Linked DNA regions of Homo sapiens: regions 2 and 3 are each linked to region 1. Evidence: promoter capture Hi-C in 16 types of primary human blood cells and fetal thymus (Javierre and others, 2016). All regions are on one chromosome and are shown on one strand. Each heading gives the region's core, a stretch centred on a gene start or on the middle of the fragment in contact. The rest is flanking DNA. Distances are from core to core; before and after follow the strand shown. Region 1 holds the start of KLHL8 (kelch like family member 8). Region 2 holds the start of MAPK10 (mitogen-activated protein kinase 10). Region 3 holds the start of PTPN13 (protein tyrosine phosphatase non-receptor type 13).

What was found. The method cuts DNA at HindIII sites, captures the fragments that hold promoters and counts their contacts. A CHiCAGO score of 5 or more calls a contact.
Region 2: a contact is called between a fragment that was not itself captured here and the fragment with the promoter of KLHL8 in region 1, in 1 of 17 cell types (monocytes). The highest score is 6.2, in monocytes.
Region 3: the fragment with the promoter of PTPN13 here is called in contact with the fragment with the promoter of KLHL8 in region 1 in 1 of 17 cell types (erythroblasts); the score reaches 6.0 in erythroblasts.

What each region holds. Positions count from the first base shown.
Region 1 is chr4:87,218,998-87,222,399 of GRCh38, reverse strand. It overlaps KLHL8 (kelch like family member 8), which reads left to right and starts at 1,782. Exons shown (of 10, transcript NM_020803.5): 1 at 1,782-1,982. RefSeq lists silencers at 1,563-2,052, 2,393-2,662 and an enhancer at 2,168-2,780. The HindIII fragment of the contact is 8,812 bases long and covers 1-3,402 here.
Region 2 is chr4:86,357,979-86,361,380 of GRCh38, reverse strand. It overlaps MAPK10 (mitogen-activated protein kinase 10), which reads left to right and starts at 1,328. Exons shown (of 14, transcript NM_138982.4): 1 at 1,328-1,723. The HindIII fragment of the contact is 2,874 bases long and covers 279-3,152 here.
Region 3 is chr4:86,592,663-86,596,064 of GRCh38, reverse strand. PTPN13 (protein tyrosine phosphatase non-receptor type 13) reads right to left here and starts at 1,750. Exons shown (of 48, transcript NM_080683.3): 1 at 1,276-1,750. It also overlaps a transcript of MAPK10 not described here. RefSeq lists an enhancer at 1,513-2,099. The HindIII fragment of the contact is 4,151 bases long and covers 185-3,402 here.

The sequences.
Region 1 (3,402 bases), core at 533-3,032:
CCAATGACTCAATGGGGTAGAGACGTTTATATACTCTTCTTTATGGGGGAAAGGGAGATTGGGGAAATGTGGCAACTTAAGGTATAGTAAAGGACTTTTAGGGGAAAATGGGGAACATACAATGGCCTGGGAAAAAGTGTGTTGAGCCCATACAGCAGACAATAGTTTGTGACAAAAGTCTGTCCAAGAGTGTTGACAGACTTCAGTCTTTCTTCCTCCAATATGAGTTAAGTAAATGAAAAATCAGGTAAGGCAAATATGTTCCTCTTTGGCAGGTCTAGTTTCTAGGCAGATAAGGGAAATTCAGAGAACGACATCATTTGGTGCTTTGGGAGAGACAAAGAATTGAGAGGCAGGAGGGGTAATGGGGAAGGTAAGAGACACCTTGAAGCTGCTTCCTCAGTTCAGCGCGGCAAAGCACCATATTTTGGGGTATCGATTTCTGAGTCCCAACAATTTTTACATCACGTTCCAGACACATTTTATGACTTTTCTTCACTGCATACTTCTTTAAAACTCATCTTACTCTATTTTTCTAAAGGTATTTGCATTAAATGTGCAAAATACTAATGCTCTAAAGAGGAATATTTTGAAATATTAAGAATTATTTATATTTCAATGTAAAAAATGTGATTTTTTTTCTAGAAATAAAATTTCAAATTCAAATAGTTGCTTTGGGGTTTTTATAGAAGATGCATATATATATACAGATATATATATGTTCATTTCTATTAAAATCAATGTGCTAATGTTCATATGTGTTAATATTAATAAAGGTCCTAGGATTAAATTTATTCTGAAATAGACTCCTAGGATTGTGAAAGTTTGAGGTTAGTCTGGCAAAAGACACATTTAGGGGAATATCTTTCTTTAAAAAAAATTTTGTTTTTTTGCTGTCTCTTGATCTCCCGCCTCACACATTCCACTTTATTGACATTATAGAAAAATTAATTCATTTCAACAGCACTTTTACTTGCATTGCTTTTTTTTTTTTTTTTTTTTTTTTTAGACGGAGTCTTGCTCTGTCGCCAGGCTGGAGTGCAATGGCACAATCTCAGCTCACTGCAACCTCCGACTCCCGGGTTCAAGCAATTCTCCTGCCTCAGCCTTGCGAATAGCTGGGATTGGTGGCACGCACAACCACGCCCAGCTAATTTTTGTATTTTTAGTACAGACGGAGTTTCACCATGTTGGCCAGGATGGTCTCGACTCCTGACCTCGTGATGCGCCCGCCTCAGCCTCCCAAAGTGCTGGGATTACAGGCGTGAGCCACCGCGCATGGCCACTTGCACTGCTTTTTAGCAGCGAGCTCTCAGGTCAATCAACTGCTTCCTTAGGTTTACAAACTGTGGGTGTGTATTTATAAACACAGTTGTTTTGTATATCCTTTGTAGAGCACGTGGTGAAAGTGACACAGGAATAAATGCAAACCTTTTTTTCCCCTTCTTTTTTCAAAGACATAAATCCCAGGAACACTCACAACCGCAGAAGGGGATTTGATGGACATACAAAGAAACTAAATTTTGTACCGCCGCAGAAGTGAAGCATGGATAAGCTCAAAGGTATTTAGGCAGTGTTTTATTTCAAGATTTGTTATGGGGACCTCCGCCACGCCCTGGTCCGCCTTCACCAGGCCGGGCAACACTGCCCAGTCCCTGAGACCCGGCCGCCCACTAGGGAGCCGCGGGGGCGAGGCCGTGGGGGTGGCCTCGGGGAGGAGGTCCCGAGAACCACACTTCCCAGAGTGCCGTGCGCAGCCCCGCCCAGCCCGCCCCGCCCCCAGAGGCCGCGGCTCGCGGGGGCTGAGGCGAGAGGACGCCAAGCGCCCGCCGGGGCTCCGCGGGGCCGCGCAGGAGAGCGCGCGTCCGCCGGGTGCTCGCGCGGGGTTGGTGAGGTTCCGCTGAGGGCGGCCGGGGCTCTGGGAGCGTGGTAACGTGGCTGCAACCTTAGCGACATCAGGAAGAACAGGGTCGAGGATCGAGGTAACGGGACGCTCGTCTCCCCTCAGTCCCCTCGTCTCCCCTCAGTCCCCTCTTCCTTTGTGCGGTGCCGTCCGCTCGCGCCGAGCCCTCCCTCACCCCAGCCCCCAAGTCGCAACACCGTCCCGTCTTGGGTCTCCGGTGTGCGGAGGAAATTCGAGCCCTCGTGCACCAACCGAAACTCCACAGCTGAGAGGGCTTGGGGCCCGGACAGCAGGAGATCCAGCCCCTGAGCAACCTTCCACGGCTTTTGTCGCCCCCATTGGCGGGAGGAGCAGGGTTATGCTCCCGGCTCCCGTAGGGGAGCTCCAGCCTCTGGCTCTGTCAGCCTCCCCGGCAGCTCCTTGACTCCTTCCTCCCAGTCTTTCGAAGAGGGGCCCAGGCAGGTGCTTCGCGGGGTCCAGGAAGAGGGCAGGCGCGGTGCGGCTGGCGCGGGTTCGGGGCCCCGGGAGGGCGGCCGGACGCCCCCTGGAGCCGCGGCCTGCGGGGGCGGGGCGAGTGGGCCACCTCCGGGCCACGCCGCGCGGGGACGAGGCGAGGAAGGCACTGCCTGTCCCCACTCGGGGGGCTTGCTGGCCGCCCTGGAGGTGCCTTCCCGGGAGCGGCGGTGTAGACCTTGTGGAGAGTGCCTCCTGATGTGGAACCAGGAACCGCAGCCTCTTTCTAGACGCTCAGCCGCCCGGTGGAGTTGTTACCGCCACGATGACAGCTCTTTACGCCTTCCACTCCGTGCTGGGTTCAGTTGGCTTGCTGTTTTCTTCAGAGAGAGCGATTTGGCTACATAGCTTGAATTTTCTACGTGTCTCGTGCTTTACTGGACTTGCACTGTTTTTCCCTCTTGGCAGTGTTTAATCGGGTGACTTTTCATAGAAAACGTTCAGTATTTTCATCTGTGTTAATGGCATAACTTTCTTCTTGACTCTGCCCTAAGCTAATGTTACCAGTTTAGAGGGATACTTTGGGAAAAGGTCCTTAGAACCTGGGTTGACATAAGTATTTTATCTGCTGGTTGCACGTTTTTTCCTTTGCATTGTTTTTCTCCTATACAAGATGGTAATTGTTGGACTCTTGGTGTTCTTTATTCTCTCTCTAGAAGGAAATCCTCTTCGCGCATCTTTCTCGTGTTCTGGCCCTGCGGTACTCTTGGGTACGCAGAGGACTGCTGCTAACAGTGCTGGCGCCTGGAACGCTGCTTGGAGATGGCGGTGGCATTAAGCTGCTGCTTTTCCTCAGACTTCCTCCTGGCACCCTTCTTAATTTGTCAAACTGACCCAGTTCAAACTTCAAACTTTTAGTCACTTTATTTATTTCGTCACTTTTTAAAAAAATTGCTTTCAAGATACCAAAATTGCGTAAGCCTAAATATAAAAAGAGGTGTCTCAGGGGCCGGGTGCAGTGGCTCACGCCTGTAATCCCAGCACTT
Region 2 (3,402 bases), core at 466-2,965, 860 kb after region 1:
TGAGAAGACTAGAAGATAGTCTTGATTGATTCTTGTTGAAATTGAAATTAGAGTAAAGGGACATCCAAACACTTATCCAATGAACTACAATGACATACAACTCACTCAAGCCTTCCTTTTTCTAAATTTTCTCCCCAAATAAAACAACAGCAGCAACAACAAAGACAACAAAAACGTATGCGTTTCTTACAGCTTTATGATGTGTTTCAGTGTCTACAGTACTGCTGAGTTTGCATCTCTTGCATGTTGTATCTTTCTGGTAACATATGGAAGAAGCTTCATATTCATATAAGTATGCTAGTTCTAAAACATAATGTGGAATCATTTACAACTCAGCACTACTTGGTAGCAATAAACAGAAACCCACCTCAAAAGAGTGTAAGCAAAAAAGGAATTGAATTAGATTACGTAATTTGAGAAGTCCAAAGGCTGGAGTTGGTTTAAGCGAAATTTGTATTGAAAATTTTTCTTACATAAAAAAGGTAAAACAAATTTGGTAAACCTAATTTTTTTTTATAGTGCAAGTAGTCAACTGTTGTCATTCTAAGAAACTATTATTTATGGATAGTAAAACTGTTTGGAGACTTTAAAAATACCCTATAACAGTTAAAGGCAGAGCAAATTACTGAAATAAAATTGCGATATTTGCCCCAAATAGTAACAGTACAATTTTCATCAGTTCTCTAGAAAATTATCTGCAATTAAAAAAAAAAGAATTCTGATGTGTTAACTCAAATTAATCAGTATTTTCTTTGTACACTCAGATTGCAACCTAAGTATTAGTCTGTTGAATTTGGTTTAGTGGATATTTATTCAGGATTTTTACAAAAACAAGGAAACAGAGAAGAGGAATAGTGCTGTGCAGATGACCTCGGGGTTCAGGCGACACTCAAATGCCTGCTTCTCCTCTGAGGTTATTACCATCTCTTACTTGTTTGACGTTTAGAGATACTACAAGAGATAGTTGAAAAGCAGAGGTTGCATTTCCAGTGGTGTTTTGCTCTGCTGGTATTTGCTCCTCCGTGCTGCTGTGCAAAGGGCCAGAACTGCATCGAATGGATCTTTTCTTCAGGTTGTGCAGGCTGGCTGCCTTGATGTCGTAGTTGCTGATGTTGGCTGCCGACGAACCTTATTCCTTTACATTTGCCTGGTCCTCATTTCACCGGAAAACACAGTAGCTGTAGCTGCACATAGACGCTTCCTCTTTCTGTTTCCCCCTCATCCCCCTCCCTAGACCTCTCTGGGCTTTGACGTCATGTGTGCTCCTTTCGGTTGCCATAGCAACCCCATTCCCCAAGCCCTCTGTCCGTCTCCTCTGGTAGGTTCCACAATGGTACAGGCAGCATCACGCTGCACAATGGTTTCCAGGCAGTGAAAGAGGGTGATTCAGCAAGCCACTCTTCTTCTATTTTCTTTAACCTCCCCTTCACTTTTTATTTTTATGGGGGTGGGTGGTGCTTGCTATATGCTTACCTTTTTCTTTTCTTTTTTCATTTTTACAAATTTCCTTTTTTGTCCTCACCCCTCAATTCCTAGGGGCTTGAGTGAGTTTAAGATTGGGTTTTCTTGGAAATCACCTGTCCATCGTTAATTTTAAACAATCTCCATATCTCCAAAGAATCTCTTCCATGTTAGTCTGGAATGTGGTTAATGAAAAACAAGTAGGGAGGATTTCTGGGGCAAACACTGCCGGATCAGGATCGTAGTTCTCAGGCACGGAATGGTAGGTGGCTCTTTGCTCGTTCTGGGTTCTAACCTGTTTTTGGAGGGTGGGGTGATGTCTATTGATTGCTCCTGGTGGGGCGGGAGAGGGAGTATGGAAGAGACGAGAGAGGTGGGGTGGAAAGCAGGTTAATCAAGTGAACTAGCTTTGAAGCAAGAAGCTACCAGTTTTTCCCTCTGTGCAGAACATCTCTTTCCAGACTTGGGCGTGTTGAAACCTTTCCATTTGGAGTGAGGGGTAGCAGAGGGAGGGAGGGAGCATTCTTATTGTGACCAGGGGTTTTTAGACCAATGCAGGGCTACAGAAGGGAAGGGAGAGAGAGAGAAACACACACACACACACACACACACACACACACACACACACACAGAGAGAGAGAGAGAGAGAGAGAGAGGAAAAAAAAAACACCAAACAGCTGTGCTTGTTAGAAGTGCTGACCTTAGTTCCATATCTGAAAAATGTGATGGGTTCCATAAAACATTAAAAATAATGTCTTTTAGTATGTATTTATGTTTACTTTTGTGAGAAGTATAATTTAAATATTTTAAGATGTATTTTACTAAGGAACAGTATTTATATATATATTAGATATAAAACTATTGGCGTTACTCTTGCAGAGCAACTCTAGGCTAAATCTGAGCCGGGGAGAGGAACACAGAACAGGGGTCAGGTTAGAGATAAGAGGAAACATTGGCACTGCAGTCAAATAGGTAAGGGGTCCCTTTAAGAAAGTGATCTCCTAGTCACAGCAGTCAGCTTTCTTTTTTTCATGGCAAGATTCCCAGGTATTCTGTGCTGGGATACTGTGTCCCCTGCAAATGTCAGAGCTCTTTTGAAAAAAAAATCAGAAATAAGTATGGCAGTATATTTGTTAGAATCTATGTATTTGTGCCTTCAACAAAATAAATGTAATTTACTGGAAAATCTGTAAGTAAATCAGGCTATAGATATTACAAGAAAACTATCTATCCATATATTTTTCTCACCCTCCCCAAACATTTAAATCTAGAGACCTAGTCTCTGCTTTTACCCCCTTAAACAGATAACTTCCCAGGGTACTGCAATTTAGCCACAGAAAAAGAATGGCTTATGCCACAGCAGTAGGCTCTGAAGCAATCACAAGGTTGTTTACATGGGCTGCCTTTGGTGCAGAGCCTGACAGTGTCTGTACAGCAGCCCTGCCTGCTTCTGGCCATGTTGATGATAACTTTTATGAACAAACTGCAAGGAAGCAGGCTAAGTCATATGGGATAGACTACAGTTCAGGTGGAAGGAAAACGAGTGTAAGTGCACCAGGCATTGCCAGCACAACATCCAATATCTCCTTCTATCCCTCATCGGCTAGTTGTCGGACCCTGGAAGATAACACAGAATGCTTATCAACATATTTAAAATAGTTGCAGTAAGGACCATTTCTCTCAGAGAAGCTTCTGTGAATTTTCTACTTTAGGTGAGCATATATGTTACAAATATATAACAAATAAATATATAAGTATATCACAAGCTTCTGACTCCACTTCAGAACCATTAGATTTTAGGGGCTGGATGCTTTGGATGTAGCGGTTTGGCTGCCTCTGGTATGTATTTCCTTCTCTACCTTGATCACACTCTTAAAATTGACATAAAGTATTGGATTAGCTTATTTTCTTATGTGGAGCAAACTGGGTTTTCTCTCCCCT
Region 3 (3,402 bases), core at 501-3,000, 630 kb after region 1:
GCGCCTCTGTATAAATTTACTAAATCAATATATGTATGAATTTACTAACAAATGCTCCTAGTGATATTAAAACGAGAAATAATTTGTATATTGGCACCACTACAAGCAGCCAATGAGCATGAAGCAAGTTTTCACCTGGACCCTGCCAACACAGTCATGAAGACTTTAGGAAAATACCTAAGCTTGTTTCATAATACATGCACTTTTACTCCCCCCCCCATCCTTTAGTAAACTTTCTAGATATAAATTTTAAAATCTTAAAATTTATAATTAGTTACCAGCGCCCTTCATCCCACAGATCAGGTGTCCTACATTTTGTTCAGGTCCTGCCTTGAAAACAAACCCGATTGCCCCATTTTCTGCGAGGGAGCTCAGCTCCAGGCAGCTCCCTATGAAGTCACCGCGTTTGTTGTTTCAAAGATGCAATTAAATGAAAATGACACAAGGCTGTCGAACAGATTAGTTGGAAGTGTGCGGTGGTGTCGATCATATACGTGTATGGCCAATGAAAACTGTATTGCTGTAAATCTCTTAGTGATATTTCTCCCCATCCTCCTCTCTCCATTATATTCACAACAGAAGGAAATTAAACTTTGTAAGAATTTTCTTGACTTTGGTTTAACTTTAGCTTCCCAGCTGTCTGCTCTTACAGTATCACGTAATGAGCAAAGCGGTGGGGCTAGGGGGCCGGAGGGTAGAGTGTTAACTTTAGCAAGCAGAAGAAAAGCAATAAAAGACCTTGCATCAGACAGTGTCTCTCCCTCTGCCCCCTCTTCCTCTGCTTCCCCGCCATCCCACCCCCTTCTCGAGCCCTTACACACACATTCTTCTGGGCGGCCTCTAACCACACCATCTCCACAATCATTTGCAGAAATTAGAAACAGACTCCGGGAGCCCTTCCCTTAAGCACGCACAGAGCGGAGCTGTGCAAGCACGACGGGGCAATGTCACTCCCTATTACCCCACAATCTCTTACTCCCCCTGTGGGTTTCATTCCCGAGAATCCGGCTTTCTTCCGCAGAGGAGATGGATCTACCTAATTAGCAATGGAGTTTCATCTCATTCTTCCCCACTCCAGTCACCCCACCCCCACTCTAACGTACAAAAACACCCACCACCAAAACCAAAGAAAAGTTCCTTCTACCAGGGCAACCGAGGAGTTGGGTTTAGGGACTGGAGCGAAAGCAGAGAGAGGAGGAAGAGAACGAGCGCAATGTACTTTGTTTTGCACTTCTGCACATGCAGCGCAGAGCCCAGGGCGGCTCTCGTCCTTACCGGCTGGTCCCGAGACCGGGTCCTGCTACTGGAGCGCCGGGCGAGGGCTGCAGGGACGCGGCGTCGGGGCGGGCCGCCGGCAGCCGCCGCGGGCGCCGAGAGCCACCACCACTTCTCCCACAAGCGGCTGCGGGCGTGGGCTGAAGGAGCTGTAGAAGGAGCCTGGGGAGGGGGAGAAGAGGAGCAGCATCTCCTCCTCCTCCTCCTCGCCTCGGAAACGCTCCCCAGCGGCGATCCCGGCCGACTGCCTGACCCCCGAGCGCTCAACGCACCCCCGCCGCCCTACTGTGCTCGACGCCTCTCCAAGAGCTTCGCCAAAACCTTCTGGCGCGGGCGGCTCAACTCCTGTAGGCGACTCTGACCGCTGCCGAGGCGGACCGGGGAGCTACGGAGCACGGCTCGCCAGCACGACGGTCTCCAGGGGCCGTGAGCATGGTGTGTCACCCTCGCCTCAGCGTGGCCGCTGGAGCTACTCGCACCACTGGGGCTCCACCTCGGGCAGCCGCGCCGGCTCCGCCCCCCCGGTCCTGTCACTCAACCATTCCCCGGCACTGGGAGGACCGCAGATCTCCCACCCCGAGCTCCCCTCGACCTCATTGGCCCGCCTGGCATCCAGCTCCACCTCCTCCCTAGGGACGAGGTCGCCAGGGAGACCAGCGCCCCGGTTGCCATGACAACCAGTGCCTTGGGCCTGGCTTTTCGCGTTCTTCGGACTAGCCAGAGGCTCAGGTTGGTGACCGAGCGGCAGAGTTCCTAGCGCCTGCAGTGTGGTGAACTCCAACTTTTAGGCCAAGTTGAAAATGCAGCCGACGACCCCCACACTTCTAACTTCAGAATCAAAACTATGACCCTAGGGAGTGAGGAGGAGAGTGAAAAATGCGTAAGTGCTGGCTCCTCCCTTACTCTTCGCTGCCTCTCAGCCTTGTTTCTATATTCTCACGGGGCGCTTTGGTCTTTGAAAGGAAGAGGAGAATGGGGGAGAGGAAGAGCATGGCTTTGCCAGCTCCTTGCAGCAATATAGCAACTTAGAAATGGCGGGGTCAACGAAAAAAGCCCGGTGAGTTTTCCCACGGTTGTAAAGCTATCTTCAAAAGTGTGGTGACAGCACAACGCCAAATGCCCTAGGGAAAACTGAAATTCTCATATTTTTGAAAAAAGTTTGTAAATACTTGCCTTGTTATTTTATCTATGAGACTAAAATAATCCCGAAGTTTGAAAATTTAAGGAAAAGGTTTAACATAGTCGATAACCTCCCACTTTTCTATATACACTGAAATTTGGCCAAGGTATATCCAGACAGCTGTACCCCTCCTTGCTGCAAGCCGAAATATTTGAGTTTCAATAGTTAAACAAGAGAGTCTTGCTGAATTCATGAACAAATAATATCCTGTGATTTGAGTTTTGAAAGTTTTGGGTTATTCTCAGAGGTATAAGGTAAACTGGTCCACTCTGGAAAGGGTACCTGAAGATAAATTTAGTCTGAGACCCTTAATGTTGAGCCCTAGGTAAATCTGAATTTCATGGCTGGCTCCAAAGTGGAGAGATCTGAGGCTTATTTGGCTTCCCCAAAAAAAGTCAAAGCAGCAATCCTAGGTTCCCTAGCCCCTGAGGCTGCCATACATGTATGATGAATGAGGGAATTAATAGTAATGATTTATCTTTGGCGAGCACTTGAGTTTTCATTATATCATTTACTAAATGAATAACTATGATAGATATCTTCAGTCAAATATGCCTTACAAGTATGCATTGAATGTGATTACTCATAGGGCTAAACACAACGGAAAATACACAGCAGGATTTTAAGCTAAGTCCCCGCTCCCAAGGAGCTAACCTGGAGCCTAAGAAAGAAAACTAGCACTCTTGAAACAATTTGAGAACAATTATAGCTAAAATGTGCAGCCAAACTTTGAGTAGGTAGCAGCTAAGAGAAAGTTTGCTATGTAAAATGGGCTGGATTCCTCAGTTTATGGAAGAGGGGAATTTACACTGGGCTTTGATGAATGCAGCAAAGATGAGGAAAGTCAGTTGAGGGGAACAACAAAAACTAAACAGCAGCAGCAGGGATAAGTGGTGAAAGTAAATAACAGGCCAGGCTCCTTGGATGGGAAACACAAGTGGATGATT